Regions from separate parts of the Homo sapiens genome. Here all the other regions are linked to region 1. The links are contacts of gene promoters, found by promoter capture Hi-C in blood cells and fetal thymus (Javierre and others, 2016). All regions are on one chromosome and are shown on one strand. Each heading gives the region's core, a stretch centred on a gene start or on the middle of the fragment in contact. The rest is flanking DNA. Distances are from core to core; before and after follow the strand shown.

What was found. Contacts are between HindIII fragments. The CHiCAGO score rates a contact against its expected background, and 5 or more counts as called.
Region 2: a contact is called between a fragment that was not itself captured here and the fragment with the promoter of EIF3D in region 1, in 3 of 17 cell types (naive CD8 T cells, total CD4 T cells and activated CD4 T cells). The highest score is 5.3, in naive CD8 T cells.
Region 3: a contact is called between a fragment that was not itself captured here and the fragment with the promoter of EIF3D in region 1, in 1 of 17 cell types (neutrophils). The highest score is 5.0, in neutrophils.
Region 4: a fragment that was not itself captured here is called in contact with the fragment with the promoter of EIF3D in region 1 in 1 of 17 cell types (activated CD4 T cells); the score reaches 5.6 in activated CD4 T cells.
Region 5: a fragment that was not itself captured here is called in contact with the fragment with the promoter of EIF3D in region 1 in 1 of 17 cell types (neutrophils); the score reaches 5.3 in neutrophils.

What each region holds. Positions count from the first base shown.
Region 1 is chr22:36,527,634-36,531,373 of GRCh38, reverse strand. EIF3D (eukaryotic translation initiation factor 3 subunit D) reads left to right here and starts at 2,208. Exons shown (of 15, transcript NM_003753.4): 1 at 2,208-2,298. RefSeq lists enhancers at 1,938-2,337, 2,648-2,697. The HindIII fragment of the contact is 11,469 bases long and covers 1-3,740 here.
Region 2 is chr22:36,159,703-36,163,704 of GRCh38, reverse strand. It overlaps APOL3 (apolipoprotein L3), which reads left to right and starts at 2,950. Exons shown (of 4, transcript NM_145639.2): 1 at 2,950-3,036. RefSeq lists enhancers at 1,347-1,506, 1,458-2,031. The HindIII fragment of the contact is 2,474 bases long and covers 557-3,030 here.
Region 3 is chr22:36,243,989-36,247,673 of GRCh38, reverse strand. No RefSeq gene overlaps it. Among named protein-coding and RNA genes, the nearest start is that of APOL2, 6.3 kb to the right of the region's middle. The HindIII fragment of the contact is 1,513 bases long and covers 1,200-2,712 here.
Region 4 is chr22:36,140,256-36,144,095 of GRCh38, reverse strand. It overlaps APOL3 (apolipoprotein L3), which reads left to right. Exons shown (of 4, transcript NM_145639.2): 4 at 2,038-3,767. The coding sequence ends at 2,896. Among named protein-coding and RNA genes, the nearest start is that of APOL3, 19 kb to the left of the region's middle. RefSeq lists enhancers at 2,142-2,641, 2,642-3,143. The HindIII fragment of the contact is 156 bases long and covers 1,921-2,076 here.
Region 5 is chr22:36,217,270-36,221,115 of GRCh38, reverse strand. No RefSeq gene overlaps it. Among named protein-coding and RNA genes, the nearest start is that of APOL4, 17 kb to the right of the region's middle. The HindIII fragment of the contact is 2,167 bases long and covers 968-3,134 here.

The DNA.
Region 1 (3,740 bases), core at 959-3,458:
CTTCAATTTACAAATAAGGAAACAAGGCAAGGAATGTGAAGGCCACACATAGCTATCAAGTGGCAGAGCTGGCTGGGCACAGTGGCTTATGCCTGTAATCCCAACACTTTGGGAGGCCGAGGCGGGGGGATCACAAGGTCAAGGGATTGAGACCATCCCAGCCAACATGGTGAAACCCTGTCTCTACTAAAAATATAAAAATTAGCTGGGCATGGTGGCGCATGCCTGTATTCCCAGCTACTCAGGAGGCTGAGACAGGAGAATCACTTGAACCCAGGAGGTGGACGTTGCAGTGAGCTGAGATCGCGCCACTGCACTCCCGCCTGGCAACAGAGCGACACTCCGTCTCAAAAAAAAAAAAAGAAAAGAAAAGAAAAAAAAAAGAATGTGGCAGAGCCTAGACTTCAGGTATATTTTCTAATAAAGGAGACATACTAGGCGGCTAAGGAAACCTATGTCAGGTAGAAAGGATCTGAGGTTTGAATAAAGTCATGCCCTCAGATTATCTTTCATTGTTTTAAAATTCCGAAAGAAAGACACCAGGAGGAACTCCATAGCCTGGGAGTTGCTGAGAGGACAGCACTGTTATCTACTGTAGTAAAGCAGTTCCTGAGTCGTCACTTCAGAATCACAGCTAATGCGGAGCTCTTGGGCTCCAGCATAAACATATCCGTATAATCTATCAAAATGAGACCCAGAATCTGAATTTTTAAAAATACTATCCTGGTCAGGTGTGGTGGCTCACGCCCGTAATCCCAGCACTTTGGGAGACCGAGACAGGAGGACTGCTTGAGCCCAGGAGTTTGAGACTAGCCTTGGCAACATGATGAGACTTCGTCTCCACAGAAGTTTTTTTTTTTTTTTTTAATTAGCCAGGCAGCCGGACGCAGTGGCTCACGCCTGTAATCCTAGCACTTTGGGAGGCCGAGGTGGGTAGATCACCTGAGGTCAGGAGTTCGAGACCAGCCTGGTCAGCAAGGTGAAACCCCGTCTCTACTAAAAGGAAAATTAGCCGGGCATGTTGGTACACGCCTGCAATCCCAGCTACTCGGGAGACTGAAGCAGGAGAATCACCTGAACCTGGGATGCGGAGGTTGCAGTGAACTGAGATAGCGCCACTGCACTCCACTCCAGCCTGGAAGACAGAGCAAGACTCCGTCTAAAAAAAAAAATTAGCCAGGCATGGTGGCATGCACCTGTAGCCTCAGCTGCTCCGCACGCTGAGGCGAGAGGACCACTTTAGACCAGGAGTTAAAGACCAGCCCGGGCAACATAGTGAGACGCTGTCTCTACAAAATTTTTAAAAATCATTAGCTGGCCGGGTACGGTGACTCATGCCTGTAACCCTAGCCCCAGTGGGTGGACTGTTGAGCTCAGGAGTTTGAGACCAGCCTGAGCAACATAGCAAAACCCCATCTCTACCAAAAATACAAAAATTAGGCAGGCGTGGTTGTGCGTGCCTGTGTACACCAACGACTCGGGAGGCTGAACTGGGAGGATCGCTTGTACCTGAGAAGTCGAGGGTGCAATAAGCCGTGATCCTGCCACTACATTTCAGCCTGGGCGACAGAGCGAAACCCTGTCTCAAAAAATAAATAAAAATAAATAAAAACACTGTTCCAGAAATCCCTGTCCTACAATTAAGTTTGAGAACTGCGGAAGTATGGTTTGAACTCTGGCGGTTAGAACCCTAAACTAACAGTCTGATCTAGGCAGGTCACTTGGCACTTCTGAGCCTCAGTTTCCACAACTATAAAGGCGGAGGAGTAACAATAAGGACCGCCTAAGACACCGACGGACCTCCCCTGCGCTGAGTTTCACATTAAGCAGGCAGGTAGAACAGGCGGGGAGTCGCGGGTGACGGTGGGATACATGGGGGCTGAGGCGCGCCGCGAAGCATTGTGGGACACAGAAGGGCGCCAGTCGCTCCCCGCCTCGAGCTTCGATTGCGCGGCCGCCAAGTTTCAGTGATGAACGCCCTCTTTGGGCGTCCCCGGATACCGCCTGACGTAGTGCCAATCACACCTCTCGCGTCTCGGCGCCTCGGAGGCTAATGAGGACGCCTGGCGAAACGCAGTAACGGATTTCCGGGTGGACCTTCGCTTTACGGCTCGTGAGTTCTTCCGCCCAACCCAGAGGAAGCGGGAGAGCAGTTTACGACAGCGCCGGTCGTGTTTACGGCGGCGCCCGCTGCGCGCGCATGTTTCCTCTTTTCCTGGTTTCTCAAGAGTGCTGCTGCTAACGCGGTCCCCGGCACGCACCATCTGTTGCCATCCCGGCCGGCCGAGGCCATTGCAGGTGAGCGGCGTGTTTCATAGGTTCCTGCGGCCCTCCGGAGCCGGTTCGGACTAGGTCCAGCCTTCGGGGGGCCTCCCGGAAGAGACCTCTCTTAGTCCCTTCCTGCTGTTGCCGTCCCTCCGCTGGGCGGGGCAGGAATCCACTTTCGGGGGCCCCGCGTCCCGCACGCTACTGAACGCGGGACACGACCTTGTGGGTGAGGTCCTTGGCCCTCGGCCCTGCTCAGTGCCCATGAGCTGGGTGAATTTGATTGTCACTTAACTCACCTGGGTTAAGACGGAGGGGTAACAACAAAGTCTTTCTGAAGTGGCCGAAAACTCCCTGACTTTTTGAGTGAGGTCTTAGGGGTACCAGGCTGAGCGGTGTTTGGCCCCTGTTCTTAGGAATTCACAGTGCATAGGTTATCTTTCCTTTTTTGTGAAACTGGAGGCTAGGATAGAGAAGTAGATTTGATCTCTGATCTTAAATCTACCCCACCCCCTGTTCAGCGATGGACGGCTTATGATCTGTAGTGGCCTGCCAACCACAGAGCCCCTTCTGAGTGCCCTCTTGGAACCTCCCTATCCTGCCCCTGTGACTAGTACAGCTGTTACTTCGTTTTTGCTGAGCGGCTCAGTTTCTCCTCCTGGTTCCGCTCTGCTCTTAAAAAAAAAAACATTTATTAAAGCCAGGGTATCTCATCCCTGGCTTTCCAGGGAGGTGATGCAGGTCGAGCCTCGGGCCTCTTCCCTTCTTGAGCTTCTGACAGAACCCGATTTTTTAAAGTGTGTTTTGAGACTCGTTGTCTTGGTATTATGATGTACGGTCTCAAACCCCTGATCTTTGCGGGCTGCTGCCCAGCTGTAATATAATGGAAAGAAGGCTGGACTGACAGCAGGCAACCCTGGAAATCAAATCTGTTTTGAAATGATGAGGTCAGCTGCTTGAGTAGGCTGAGCTTCAAATTTTTGCCTCTAAAGTAGGGGTGGGGGGGTGGTCAATGGTGTTAAATTATCTGGTATAGGGCCTAACACGTAGGAGCTCAGCAATATTTATTTAATACAAATTGTTCTGAGACCACCACCCTTTTTCTTCTGTCCTCTTCCTATAGTTTCTATTAGAAAGATGAAACTTCTAGGTTCATCCTGTGTTGCTGTCACCCAAATGTCATCTCTGAAGGAAGCCTCAATCTCCCCAGCATGGGGCTTTGAGGAGAGTTTACTAAGTTCAGCATACCTGTTCTTTTGATTGCTCTCCAGCCTCCAAGAAACATTTGATTTTTGTTTTTTTGAGACGGAGTCTTGCTCTGTTGCCCAGGCTGGAGTGTAATGGCAGGATCTTGGCTCACTGCAACCTCCGCCTCCTGAGTAGCTGGTATTACAGGTGCCCGCCACCACGCCCAGCTAATTTTTGTATTTTTAGTAGAGACTGGGTTTCACCATGTTGACCAGGCTGGTCTCGAA
Region 2 (4,002 bases), core at 544-3,043, 370 kb after region 1:
GTGTCCCCTGCTCTTTAGATGGAGGCTCCGCCTCCCCTGGGGCAGTCTGTGTGTCTCTCAAGTTGTACCTATGTGTGGACCATGGCTGTGCCCAGCATGGAGACCCCTTCCTACAGTGGGTACTACAGCCTTGCTGAAAACATTTGTCCCCTAGATTCTGAATAAAAGTGGTTAGAAAGAAAGAAAAGAAATGAAGCTCTGTTCAAAAGAAAAAGGAAAAAAAATTGCAAAACGATCTTCAGAAGCTGTGCTGCTGCCTATGGCAGTGTGGCAGGGAGGGGGCCTCGGGTGGGGTGAGTGCCCAAAAGGGTGGGCGAGGACGATTTGGGGAGTTCTCCAAAGGTTATGACCCACTATGGGCCTACCCTTCGTTCCCGGCTGTAAACCTCTAAACTTAGCATTTATCCAAGCTATCCCATGATCTGAATCCCAATCGGCTCTCTTAATCAGTAATTTTAAAAATTGCATCCAGCCAAAATGCCCAGTCTAAAGGGAGTTGAGGGTGATTCCTGGCTCTGTGGCCAGAGCATAAGAAACCATTTTGCCTCTCAAAGCTTCCCTGGGCTGTTAACAAGCTCTGGGCTTCAATGGCCACTACAACCTAATGAAGTTGTTTAATCACGTTAAACAGCTAATTAAACCTAAATCCAGAGAAGATTTCTCTAAGCCCTTCTCTAAAAGTTATTGGTGGCATGTTGGGGGATATACCCCCTCTCTAATGCAGCAAATACAACACTCATTGCAACTTCTCTTAGCCAAGCAGCGAAACATAGCACAAACATCTTGACCCAAAGCGAAAGGAAGCATTTTAGCAAAATATGTTTCAGTTCCCCAAGCTAAAATCAAGCACATATTAAAAGCCATGCTGAACGTAAATCATCCAGGTCACAGCACTAAGATATTACCAGGAATTCTGCGCTGGGATGGATCCTTTAACTGAGGAGATTAACAGAGCTGGAGTTCTGGACCAGTAATCTCAGTTCTTCTGAGAGTGAGCAAACAATTGCAGGCTAACTCCAAAATGCAAGCTCAAAGCAAAGTGTATTGAAGCACAGTTAGACACTCTCAGAGGGACAGTGGGCTAATTTCTGTGAAGTGAAGTCAGCCCCTCTATATAGAGTTTAAGGTGCTTCTGTGCGGTTTGTGGAGAGAAGTTGAGGTTGGGGCTGTGTCTGAGTAAAGGACGATGTCATCTGATTGGCAGTTTATGGTTATATAACTAAAATTAGGCAATGCATGTTTTTACCCATAATTTTCACAGAAAAGCCCACTCTGGGGCTTTTGTATAATAAAACCACATTTTATTATAATGATGGTATAATGAACTTGGGGTGACCTGAGGGCACAGTTTCATGTTACTGGGCATGTGCCCCTTTAGGGAATTTCCACCTGTGCCCTAGTTTCTCTTTCTTCAGGATGTGCTGGCCACAAACTATACCACCAACTTCATCAGTTAGGGGGGTCTTAGAATGGCTCTGGGGCTGAACTTAGGTGGGCCAGGAGCTGTTGCAGTGACAGGCTTTCTGCTCTCTTTTCTCCTCCCAGCTGCTAATGTCTACTTAACTGCCTGTTGGGAGCTGAAAAGGCCAAAGGGATTGTGACCAACTCAGCATTTCACTGGAGGCTATATGATCAAACAGCAAACTGTTTATCATGAATGCGGGATGTGGGTAAACTCACACTGCACCCGCCGCCAGAAGGTTTCCTGAGGGCCATCACTCCCTGGTGCTGGGCTCCTTGAAGTTATCTGTTGGGATATCTAGCACCTATTATTTGAAGGATGCAGTCTTGCAAGCCTGCTGTGAACCAAACGGCTGACTGACAATTACCTGACAATCACCCCCCCACCTTTTTCTCGTCATCTCTTTTACCTAATAAACTCAGAGAGCTTGAAAAGCTCAGAGCCCTTGTTCACTAGAAGCAAGGAACCCCCTGACCCCTTCTTCCTAATATACTCTTTTGTCTTTGTCTTTTACTCCCACATCCGCCCCCCACTTTGTTCAGTCAACCTGGGACTGTGGCCAATTACAACAGCCTAACAAAAGTGCCACAGGAGTGGAACATGGGGCAGTGGGCTCTGCTGAAGAGGATGCTAGGGGGCTTCTCAGGGGAGGAAATGCTAGATTTGCATTCTGATAGAGGAGCGTGACTTTTCCAGGTGAAGGTAGCAGGTGCTCCTGGCAGAAGAACCCACATAAGGAAGTGTCCAGAAGCCACACAGGTATGGCGTTCGACAAGAGCAGGTCTGGAACGGTGGCTCATGCTGAGGCAGGAGGATCATTTGAGGCCAGAGTTTGAAACCAACCTGGTAAAAATAGTAAGATTTCACCCCTTCAAAATCATTTTTTAAAAGTAGCCAGGCCGAGTGGCTCATGCTTGTAGTCCCAGCTACTCAGGAGGTTCATTTGAACCCTGGAATTTGAGGCTACAGTGAGCTATTATTGTGCCACCGCACTCCAGCCTGGGTGACAGAGCCAGACCCCATCTCAAAAACAAAACAAAACAAAACAACAAAATAACCCCAACAGCAATACAATCAATATGCAATAAGCGTCCACCCGGCATGTGTGATGGACTGTGGTAATGCTGATGGCATGGAGGGAGTGAGGTGGGCATCTGGGGAGTGTGGTGTTATTGGGGGTGGGGAGTAATCTGGAGGGTCTCATAGTCTTTCAGTGGTAGGTCTTTCTTCCTGAAGACACAGCAAACCCCCAACCCTAAGTATGGGAGGCAGGTGGGTTGGCCAAGAAGGACGTCTGGGGCTGCTCTTGGATCAGCAGGAGGGTGGGACCAAGGGTGCTGCTGGACCAAGGATGGGACTGGGCCAAGGGTGGGGCTGGGAAGCATCCTGTTTTGCATGTTTGATCAGGAGCTGCTGCCAAGTTGTGACTTTCACTTTCCCTTTTGGGTTCCAGGGTATATCTCAGAGCCTGGAGAACGTGTCTGGTTATTATGCAGATGCACGGCTGGAGGTGGGATCCACACAGCTCAGAACAGCTGGATCTTGCTCACACTCTTTCAAGAGAAGCTTCCTTGGTAAGTTAGGGGTGGTCTGACCTTCCCCATCTCCCCATCCTCACAGCAGCTCTATAAGAGAAGGGTCATTCACCTTTTGTAGATGAGCTCAGAGAGGTTAGGTAACTGACTGAGGTCACATCTCGGTCCATGGCAGAGCCTGAATTTGCACCCAGGTTTTAGCTGGACTTCTCCCTCCCTCTCTCTGGGCCCCCAAACAGTAGAGACAGAGGCAGAATCAGCTCAGCTGGGTTCACAAAGCTTCCTAGGGCTCAGCTCTAGTTCCAGCCTGCGTGAGACATGGCCCGGTGACCCCAGAAGGAAGGCAGATGTTGGGACTGTCCATTCCTTTAGAATATTTGGAGGAACCAGAGAAGGTGGAGGACAGGAGGTGATCCAGAGCCTGGCCTGTCCTTCTTGTGGCCTGGCCACCCTGAGGCTGGCCCCAGGGTGCTGCTGCTGAGGCCCGATGGGGACAGAGGATTTCCTTTGAGATACAAGGAACCTGGCTGGGCGCGGTGGCTCATGCCTGTAATCCCAGCACTTTGAGAGGCCGAGACGGGTAGATCACTTGAGGTTAGGAGTTCGAGACCTGCCTGGCCAATATGGAGAAACCCTGCCTCTACTAAAAATACAAAAAATTAGCTGGGCGTGGTGGCACAAGCCAGTAATCCCAGCTACTTGGGAGGCTGAGGCATGAGAATCACTTGAACCCAGGTGATGAAGGTTGCAGTGAGTCGAGATCGCACCAGTCACTCCAGCCTGAGTGCACTCCTGACAGAGTGAGACTCTGTCTCAAAAAAAAAAAAGAGAGAGAGAGCGAAAAGAGATAACAAGGAACCCAGAGGTTGTTTCACCCACCCTGACTCTGAGCACCTACTTGAGCCAGGCCCTGTGGGTAAACTGAGGCCATGGGAGATGAGTGACTCGCTGAGGGTCCCATGTCAGGAAGTTGAGCAGGTAGATCACAGGACTCCATGTCCCTGA
Region 3 (3,685 bases), core at 707-3,206, 280 kb after region 1:
TGGGTGACACAGGCCCACAGCCATCTCCATCTCCATGGGGATTGGTAGGCACCCATATGCAGAGACTTATTCTACCAACCCAGCCATGTATCATTGCTTAACCCAAGGGCTTGGTGACATTGTTGTACAGGTAGTCACCCCATATTGTGGGGTTAGCCGGTGATGTGCTGTCATTGTGTCTACCAATACACAGTTGCACAACTGACTACCTGTATTTGTACTATGGTTGTTCTGTCTGCTGTTATAGCTAAGGTGCAAGTTTACCCATGCCCCACTGCACCAAAGCAATTGCAAACCTTCCCCGGCCTCTGGGAATAGAATCTTCACTGCACTACAATTGCGCAGTGAAGAATTAACTTTATCCCAGGAGAGGTCTTCCCATTGTCCCCTACCCCTGCGAAGTGATCTCCAGGCCCCTGGAATGCCCTGCCTGGTAGGAATGTCTTTGTTTCCCTGGTGGTTTGGCTACAGGACAGTATAGCAAATGTGATGGATGATGGGGGTTTGGGGCTATTGGGTATCTCTTCTCACCACCAGAGGATCTGGGGACTAAAGGTGTGAGACCTCAGGGAGGGGCTGGAAACTCCAGGTCAGCCATGAGTGCAGCCTGTGGTCAAGCCCCAGCAAACACTCTGGACACTAAGGCATGGGTTGAGAAAGACTTTCTGTTTGACCAGACTCCAGTTGGGCTCTTCTGAGCCTCTTCTCCTCTAGGCACCAACCTTGGCCTTCCATGCCCATCCCGTGCTTGCTGGGCCTGCACAACCCTGGCTCAGCAAGAATCCCCCCGAGTCAGTTTAGGGAGGGTCCTCCCTTCTTACTGTCTGAGCACACTTGCTATCTGATCACTCTCCTCACCTGCCCCTTGATGGGTGAGTGTCTGACCTGCCTTTAGGGAAAATCCTGTTAGGCCAGTTTAGCATGAACCCCCGACTCTGGTGCCTCCTGTCAGTCCTGTTCCATCTGCTGCCCCTCACTCTGGTGTTGGCTGTGACTCCCCCTCTGTCTTTACTGTATTGGGAGCTGGGCTCAGTCTCCCTCCCCTGTAACAACAATCCTGAATAAAGGCTTTCTTCCTGATTTAATGTGATTCACAGGAATTTTTCCTTAACTGGGTGAGCTTCCCTGGTTGGCAACACCCCATGTGTTTTGTCCCACATTGACACAGGAGAACGCAGCCTCCTGAGGACAACGAAGCTTCACACCTGAAACCCTCCTAGACTCTGCCCTGTGTGTCTTCCTTAGGCTGATTTTAACCTGTGTTTTTTCCCTGTGATAAACCACAGTCATGCAATAACAGTTTTCAGTGAGTTACGTGAATTCCTCTAGTGAATTATAAAATCTAAGGACGGATTTAGGAATCCCCTTAAATTTGCAGTTAGTGTCAAAGATAAGGGTGCCCTCAGACATTGCAGTTTTGGTAACTCTGAGTACTCAGAATTCAAACAAAACCAAAAACAGACCTACACAAGATCACTTTGCCTGGCATCTGCTCTCTTCCAATGCCTCATGCCCTTTGACCTTCTGACTGATGGTCACTGGTTCCAAGCACCGCACCAGTTGACTGGAGGAGGAGACCTGGCTATTAGTTTTGGAGAGTCCACATGGATTCTCCAGCCACCTTACTGCCTCCTGACCTACCACCTGCACCTCCAACCTTCCAGGTCTCACTTTCAGATGTCACCAGCCTAATCGATGCCTAAGGAGTGATGGCTTCACCTCTGTGCTTGCCAAGGCCATGTGCAATTTTATGGAGCCTCTAGAAGACTCAAGACACTTTCAGAACCATCTATATAAATTGCTAATGCTGAAAAGACCTGAATTTGGACAAGATGGTAGACGAAGTGTTTTCCTCTTTGGTTGGCAACTTATGGGTTTCCTCAGAACCCCTGAAATTACAAAAATTGGCAGCCACCCATTCTGACTCCGGAAGTGGTCACTAAGCCACACTGCTTTCCCAGGGTCAGGGGCTACTCTATGTAGAACACAAGAGGGTCCCAAAGGGCACGCAAAAACTCCACAGTTCTCACAGTTCTCAGGCTTGGTGTGGGGGAAACCGTCACTCACGGCCCACTATGCCAATCACTGATGGGATCAAATCAGGGAGGGAAGAAATATCCCTCTCCCACTCATGTGTCCTCTGCAAGTCAATGACCTCCTTACGTTTGGTGTCCTTGGTGCCTCCCTCCTCTCACCCTAGTCCTGGCCCTGGTGTCCCAGCCTTCCTACTTACCTTCCAATTAGGCCCACTTATGCCCATCCTGACCCCTGGTTCTGCCCCTGGTCCAGGTCTATCTGGACTTTTCGGCAGGATCATGGTACTTGGTCCCCCACCTTTGACCTGGAGTTCACTCTAAGGCCTTCACCATCCTCCTATATGATTGAATTACTATTCCCATTGGACAGATGCCAGACGCCAGATGCCAGTCTCCAAGGCATAATCCTAGAGGCCCACAGCTGTGCAGGGACAGAAGCCAGGATCCATCCCAGCTCTGATCAACTTCACTCCAGCCTCTCCATGTCCTGGGCCAGCAGAAGGGTTCTGCTGTGTTTGTGCAATTCCTCAGATGGGGAGGAAATAGGCCTGGGCCAGAATCGCCAGGAACACACATTGATTTGGTCAGGATTTTTCTGACTTGTCCCAAAGGAAGTGCTTCTTGGCTTTCATCTCCAAGAAGGAGAACTTTGGCCCTGGTCTCTTCCCACCAAGCTTTTTAAAAGTTAATGTTAGAAGTCTGAGGAAGATGGCAGATAGGAGACAGGGCTAACATGCAGCTCCCACTTGGAAGGACCGGACAGCATGTGGAGACCCACATCATGTAATAATGTGTGCCAAGAACCACCACAGGAATGTACCAGGAAAACTGAAAGAATTCACAGATCCTTTGAAAGAAGTGGCATGCTCCTTGCCAATTCTATGAGACAGGCAAAAAACTGGGAGTTCCCAAAGTGTGAGGGAGGGAAAATCTGCCTCCAAACACACATCGCCCCTGGGGAATCTGAAAATCCAGATTACAGGAGAGGGATTTAACCTTACCCATAGCTGAAATGGATTCAGAGAACCATGCAAAATGTAAAAGTAGAAGCAGAAGTGGGAAGAATCCTGTAGGCATTCCCAGTGTCCAGCTCAAGCCCAGGGCACCATCCCTGGCGGTATCTCACAGAGGCCTTTGGGGAAAGCAGCCAGCAGAATTTGGGAGGGGTCACAGGGTGAAAGAAGCTTCCAGATGGATTTTCTAATAATTTCTACTGGGCTTGAATTTTCTTGAGCAGAATCCAGGGGGAGAACAGGAACTTCTGCAAATATGAGCCCAGGAGCCACCACTGACACTGTGGGCAGATGGGGAGAGGCAAGGCCTGAAAGCCATGCTTGCTTTCTCAGTGGAGAAGCTTATGGCCTGGGACAAGGTCTGAGTTCTGCGCACAGGCTGCCTGAATCTAAACTTGGCATTGTTAGTGGGGCACTGCGGGAGCAAGGCCAGCCTTGCCAACTGCATGTGATCTGGGTGAGGCCTCTCGCTGCCAGCTATCCCCCACTTCCCTGGCGAACTATATGGCACAGCAGAGGCAGCCATAATCCCCTCTGTAACAAACCCCATTGGCCTTAGGACAATCTGCATCCCTCACAGTGGCCGCAGCAAGCCCTGCTTAAGGAAAGTCTGAGCTCAGACCCAGCTAACCCTGC
Region 4 (3,840 bases), core at 749-3,248, 390 kb after region 1:
AGCATGCCTGGGAACTGGGGCATTCTGAACTGCCATTTGGGACCCTCTTCTGTTCTACATAGAGTAGAGGAAGTGTTTCTTCGGGCCAGCTTGGAGAGTTGGAACAAGTGTCTGCCAACTGGGTAATTTGAAGGGTTCTCAGGAGACTCACAAGTCCCCAACCAAAGAGAAAAACACTTTCTCTATCATCTTGTCCAAATGCAGGTCTTTTCAGCATTAGTGATTTATAGAGATGATTTTCAAAGTCTCATGAGTCCATAAGAGGTTCCATGAAATTGCACATGGCATTGGCATGCACACAGGTGAAGCTGTCACCTGCTAAGGCATTAGTTTGGCTGGTGACATGTGACAGTGAGACCCTGAAGCTTGGAGGTGCCAGGTCAGGAGGCCGTCAAGTGGCTTGAGAGTTCATGTGCAGCCAGGACTAATAGCCAGGCCTTTCACTTTTCAGTCAAAGGGGGCAGTGGCTGGACCCAGTGGCCTTCAGTCAGAAGATCAAAGGGCATGTGGCATTGGAAGAGAGAACATGCCAGGCAAGGTGATCTCTTCCAGTCTGAGGTTTTATTTGATAGCTTAAGGACTCAGAGTTAGTCAAAATGCAATGTCTGAAGGCACCCTTCCTTCTGACACCAGTTGCAGATTTGAAGGTGTTTCTTAAGCCCCCACTCAGGTTTGATAATTCACTACAAAGACTTACGTAACTCACTGATAACTGTTATTGCACGATTGTGGTTTATCACAGGGAAAGAACACAGATTAAAATCAGCCTAAGGAAGAGACACACAGGGCAGAGTCTGGGAGGGTTTCAGGTGTGAAGCTTCGTTGTCCTCAGGACGCTGTGTTCTCCTGTGTGAATGTGGGACAAAACACATGGGGTGTTGCCAACCAGAGAAGCTCACCCAGTTAAGGAAAAATTCCTGTGAATCACATTAGATCAGGAAGCCTTTATTCAGGATTGTGTTACAGGGGAGGGAGACTGAGCCCAGCTCCCAATATAGTAAAGACAGAGGGGGAGTCACAGCCAACACCAGGGTGAGGAGTGGGAGATGGACCAGTTCTGACTGGAGACACCAGAATGGGGGGTTTCTGCTAAACTGGCCTAACAAGCTGCTCAACTAAAGGCAGGTAAGGAGCGGGTGAAGACCGTGATCAGACAGCAAGAATGCTCAGACAGCAAGTGGGGAGGACCCTCCCTAACTGCCTTGGGGGATTCTTGCTGAACTGGGGCAGTACAGGCCCAGCAAGCACGGGATGGGCATGGAAGGTCAGCGCCTAGAGGAGAAAAGGCTCAGAGCAGCCTGACTGGAGTTTGGCCAAGGAGAAAGTCTTTCTCAACCTATGCCTCAATGTACAGAGCTCTTTCTGGGGCTGGATCACAAGCTGTCCTGATGGCTGACATGGAGTCCCCAGCCCCTCCCTGAGGTCTAACACCCTTAGTTCCCAGTTCCTTTGGAAGGCAGAAAAGATACGTAATAGCCCCAAAACCCATCACCCATAACATTGCTATACTGTGCTGTAGCCAAACCACCAGGGAAACAAAGATGTTCCTACCAGGCAGGACATTCCAGGGCCCCAGAGATCCCTTCCCAGGGCCCAAAGACAAAAGAACGACCTCTCTTCTAATAAAGTTAATCCTTCACTGTTCTATGATCCTCTGAATGAAGGTCTTTTTGCTCCGAACCCACTTCTCTTTGTTCATCTACAAAATTTCCCCTCTCCACACACTATTGGAGGGATGATGTTGACCTCTCTTGCTTGAGGAGCCATCTTTATCGAATACCTACCACTAAAGAGCATCTGAAGATGACTTTAAGTTTTTTATTCCCATACAGAATAAGTACTGTGGCATATCTATGATATACAAAACATGTTTAACCTTGGAAAAATTATTTTAAATTTTTCCATTTAAAATTTAAAGCTTTATTTCCATTTGACTCATAGTAATAGCTCTGTGATTTATGTAGAACAGATCTTATTGAGCTGATTTTACAGATAAGTAAGCTGCCTTTCTTAATCATCTGTCCTTTATTGGTACAGGGATGAGGCAGATGCTCTCTACGAAGCTCTGAAGAAGCTTAGAACATATGCAGCTATTGAGGACGAATATGTGCAGCAGAAAGATGAGCAGTTTAGGGAATGGTTTTTGAAAGAGTTTCCCCAAGTCAAGAGGAAGATCCAGGAGTCCATAGAAAAGCTTCGTGCCCTTGCAAATGGTATTGAAGAGGTCCACAGAGGCTGCACCATCTCCAATGTGGTGTCCAGCTCCACTGGCGCTGCCTCTGGCATCATGTCCCTTGCTGGTCTTGTTTTGGCACCATTTACAGCAGGGACGAGTCTGGCCCTTACTGCAGCTGGGGTAGGGCTGGGAGCAGCGTCTGCTGTGACTGGGATCACCACCAGCATCGTGGAGCACTCATACACATCATCAGCAGAAGCTGAAGCCAGCAGGCTGACTGCAACCAGCATTGACCGATTGAAGGTATTTAAGGAAGTTATGCGTGACATCACACCCAACTTACTTTCCCTTCTTAATAATTATTACGAAGCCACACAAACCATTGGGAGTGAAATCCGTGCCATCAGGCAAGCCAGAGCCAGGGCCCGACTCCCTGTGACCACCTGGCGAATCTCAGCTGGAAGTGGTGGTCAAGCAGAGAGAACGATTGCAGGCACCACCCGGGCAGTGAGCAGAGGAGCCCGGATCCTGAGTGCGACCACTTCAGGCATCTTCCTTGCACTGGATGTGGTCAACCTTGTATACGAGTCAAAGCACTTGCATGAGGGGGCAAAGTCTGCATCTGCTGAGGAGCTGAGGCGGCAGGCTCAGGAGCTGGAGGAGAATCTAATGGAGCTCACTCAGATCTATCAGCGTCTGAATCCATGCCATACCCACTGACCCCAGACCAGTGCAGCCAGCAGGGGAGGTGAGCCATACACAGGCCACGACAAAATGCAGGCATTTTATTAGGGGGATAAAGAGGGCAAGGTAAAGTTTATGGAGCTGAGTGTTAGTGACTTTGGCATTTCTGTAGCTGAGCACAGCAGGGGAGGGGTTAATGCAGATGGCAAGTGCACCAAGGAGAAGGCAGGAATGCTGGAGCCTGGAATAAGGGAGGAGAGGGGACTGGAGAGTGTGGGGAATAGGAAGAAGAAATTTCCTTTAGACTAACGAATATATTGGGGGGAGGAATAGAGGGGAGGTGTGCAGGAACCAGCAATGAGAAGGCCAGGAAAAGAAAGAGCTGAAAATGCAGAAAGCCGAAGAGTTAGAACTTTTGGATACAGCAGAAGAAACAGCGGCTCCACTACCGACCTGCCCCCGGTTCGATGTCCTTCCAAGAATGAAGTCTTTCCCTGGTGATGGTCCCCTGCCCTGTCTTTCCAGCATCCACTCTGTCTTGTCCTCCTGGAAGTGTATCTCAGTCAGCCAGTGGCTTCTTGATGATGGCGGTGGAGGTGGTGGTTGTAGTGTGATGGATCCCCTTTAGGTTATTTAGGGGTATATGTCCCCTGCTTGAACCCTGAAGGCCAGGTAATGAGCCATGGCCATTGTCCCCAGCTGAGGACCAGGTGTCTCTAAAAACCCAAACATCCTGGAGAGTATGCGAGAACCTACCAAGAAAAACAGTCTCATTACTCATATACAGCAGGCAAAGAGACAGAAAATTAACTGAAAAGCAGTTTAGAGACTGGGGGAGGCCGGATCTCTAGAGCCATCCTGCTGAGTGCCCTGTGTGTAAGTCCTAATAAACTCACCTACTCACCAAGCTGGACTTATTCGAGTCATTCCTTGGTCTCCTGGCTCCTTTCTCGCTTTGGGAGCAAGTTCCTGTCTGAAGT
Region 5 (3,846 bases), core at 802-3,301, 310 kb after region 1:
TTTTGCCATATCTTTCTTTTAACTTGAAATGATCCTTAAAACCTCTAAACTAAACAAAATGATGTTTTCTTAAAAAGAACCACAGTCCCATGCCCTCTTTCAACCCTTTTATCAAAACACATCCTATCTCTTTAATACATTCATTAGTCAGAGTTCTCCAGAGTGACATGGTCAATAGAATACATGTACACACAGAAATACACATAGAAGTGAGTTTATTAGGGAGAACTGGCTCACATGATTACGAGCAGAAATCCCACAACAGGCTCTTGGCAAGCTGGGGAAAGACAGAAGCCCGTAGTGTGACTCAGTCCAAGTCTAAAAGCCTCAAAACCAGAGAAGCCGACTGCGTAGGTCTCGGTCTTAGGATGAAGCCCTGTAATCCTCCAGGAGGCCGCTGGTGCAAGTCCCAGAGTCCAAAGGCCAAAGACCAGGAAGTCTGATGTCCAAGGGCAGGAGGAGAGGAAGGAAGCATCCAGCACGGGAAGACAGAGAGAGTGATGAGCAAGCTGCTCACCCTTTTCTCTTCTGCTTGCTTTGTTCTGGCCTCACTGGCAGCTGATGGGATGGTACTGCCCACATTCAGGGTGTGTCTTCTTCTCTTAGTTCACGGACCCAAATGTCAATCTCCTTTGACAACACCCTCACAGACACGCCCAGAAACAATCCTTTACCAGCCATCTAGGCATTCCTCCGTCTAGTGATGTTCACACCTCATATTAACCATCACAATACACTTTGTGTATAGCCAGAAGGTGGTCTAGGCAGCAATAGATGTAATGTTTTAATTACATACATTAATTGTAATGTGAACTCTTGGTAACTCTTATTTTTATTGAAGAATCTAGGAGGTAAACAGTTTTAATTATGCACCAGATGCGTATCCCAGGATGAAGGGCAATGCCTGGGGTTAGTCCAAAGGCTTGATTCTCAAGACACATAGGTTTACAGATGAGATAAGCAAGCTTTAAAAGTATTACAGAAGCAAACTTTTTTATCCTAATACATCTAGCAGACAATAGTATCTGACCTGCTTGACTAATTCAGCCCAGATATCTAAATTAAGTTTTGAAGACATTTCTATTTTACCAATAATTTTTAAACTGTCTCTAGCAAAGATTATTAAAGTCACATGAAGTGAATGCTATTCAAATGAAAGTTTCTATTTTTCTGATAAAATATTGGATTTAAGTGCTTTTTTTGGCAAGCCAATTAATTAGACCCTTCTATATATTTTGATGGGGAAATATTATATACCTATAACACATATAAATACATAGACACACAGAGATGCGTACAGACCCAGATCCTGTAGATTTGTAAGATTTTTTATTTGTCACTTTTCCAAATTTTTCTCCCCCACTTTAGATTACTAATTTCTTTCTTTCTTTTTTTTTCTTTCTTTCTTTCTTTCTTTCTTTCTTTCTTTCTTTCTTTCTTTCTTTCTTTCTTTCTCTCTCTCTCTCTCTTTCTTTCTCTCTCTCTCTCTCTTTCTTTCTTTATCTCTTTCTTTCTTTCCTTCTTTCTTTTTTTTTGAGACAGAGTCTCACTCTGTCGCCCAGGCTGGAGTGCAGTGGTGCCATCTTGGCTCACTGCAGGCTCCGCCTCCTGGGTTCACACCATTCTCCTGCCTCACCCTCTGAGTAGCTGGGACTACAGGCACCTGTCACTACGCCCGGCTAATTTTTTGTATTTTTAGTAGAGACGGCATTTCACCGTGTTAGCCAGGGTGGTCTCGATCTCCTGACCTTGTGATCTGCCCACCTCTGCCTCCCAAAGTGCTGGGATTACAGGTGTGAGCCACCACGCCCAGCCCACCAATTTCTTGATAACCTGTTTTATTGCCTCAGCAATTGTCAGCCAGATGGCCCAAAGTTCGCACTCTAAAGGAACAAATCTTAGGTGACATCAGATAGAGATTTTACATCTCAAAGTAGAACTAAAACATTTGGCCTAAATATTGTATCATTTTGCTTAAACCAAGGGAAGAAAAACAACTGGAAGCGAACGCAGGTCTGGATGCTCCCCACCTGGATCATCCAATTAACAAGAGCGAGGTCTGCTAGAAAGAAAGTGTTTTTATTAACCAAAACGAGTAAAGGGGAAGTGGCTGGATTCCCTTGGAAAGCAATCACTTTTGCAATCTCTCCATATGACAAAGGTCTAATATTCAGAGTCTACAAGGAACATAAGCAAATTAGCAAGAAAAAAAAACCAAACAACTCCATTATAAAATGGGCAAAGGACATGAACAGACAGTTCTCAAAATAAGACATTCATACGGCCAACAAACATGAAAAAAAGCTCAACATCACTGACCATTAGAGAAATGCAAATCAAAACCACAATGAGATACTATTTCATGCCAGTCAGAATGGCAATCATTAAAAAGTCAAGAAACAACCGATGCTGGCGAGGTTGTGGAGAAAAAGAAACACTTTTACTTTGTTGGTGGGAGTGTAAATTAGTTCAACCATTGTGGAAGACAGGGTGGCAATTTGTCCAAGAAACCCCTTTGACCCAGCAATTCCTCTGCTGGGTATATACCCAAAGAAATATAAATCACTCTGTTGTAAAGATACATGCATATGTATGTTCACTACAGCACTATTCACAATAGCAAAGACATGGAATCAACCCAAATACTCATCAATGATAGACTGGATAAAGAAAATGTGGTACATATACCCTGTGGAATACTCTGCAGCCATAAAATGGAATGAGACCATGTCTTTTGTAGGCACATAAACGGAGCTGGAAGCTGTCATTCTCAGCAAACTAATGCAGGAACAGAAAATCAAATACCATATGTTCTCATTTATAAGTGGGAGTTGAATGATGAAAACGCAGGGACACATCAAGGGGAACAACACATACTGGGGCCTGTTGGCGCAGGGGGAGGGAGAGGATCAGGAAGAATAGCTAATGGATGCTAGGCTTAATACCTCGGTGATGGGTTGATCTGTGCAGCAAAGGACCATGGCACACATTTACCTTACATCCCGCACATGTACCCGGAACTTAAAATAACAGCTGAAGGAAAAAATGAAACTTTTCACTGGAAAAAAAAAAAAAGAAAGAAAGAAACCAGTTTGATGTTTTTGGGTAAAGGCCGGGGCTTAAAAAGGAAAGCTTGATAAGGACAGCATGCTAGAATTGTGTATGTGTGTATGTCCTGTCCCTGTGGCTCTCCTGGGTCCCAGTCCACCTGGATCTTGGGCTGGCGTCATCTCAACGATGGCTGGATTGCTAACTAGCTGCCTTGAGTACTCTCTGGAAATTTGTAGCTGGGTCTCCAGGCTTGGCCTGTGTGTCTCAAGATTAACCTATGGAACTTCTGAGAAAGCACATGATTAGACACTAGCACAAACTTAGATAAATATAGGGGGTATATATGGTGAGAAAGGGAGGGGCATGGACTCTATTTTAAGTCTAAGAAAAAAGGCTTCTGCAGTTTGCTTCAAGGTTAAATCTGGAAACCAAAGAAGAAGGAAAACCCAGTTTAAAATGCAGTTTGAAGTTAAGCTGCCTGATTACAAAACGATATAAGCAAATTTTAGTTAAGAGGTCCAGGAAAAGAACTTTAAACAGAGATATGCCTTAGGATAGAAGAGAACAGTTTTGAATTTGCCAGGAATCTGTCCACTTCCAACTCTTGAGGTCGCATGAGGAAAACAGAGGTTCCTCCCCAGCAGGGACTCTGGTGCTTTTTTCTGTTTTTCCCAAAGGATCTCAGCTGTTAGAAACTACTGTAGGTCCTCTCTTGATTGCATGGAGGGTGGCAAGAGGAAGGAGGGAAAGACAGAAGTAAACAGAGAAACAGACAGAATTGAGGTGACTGAGACA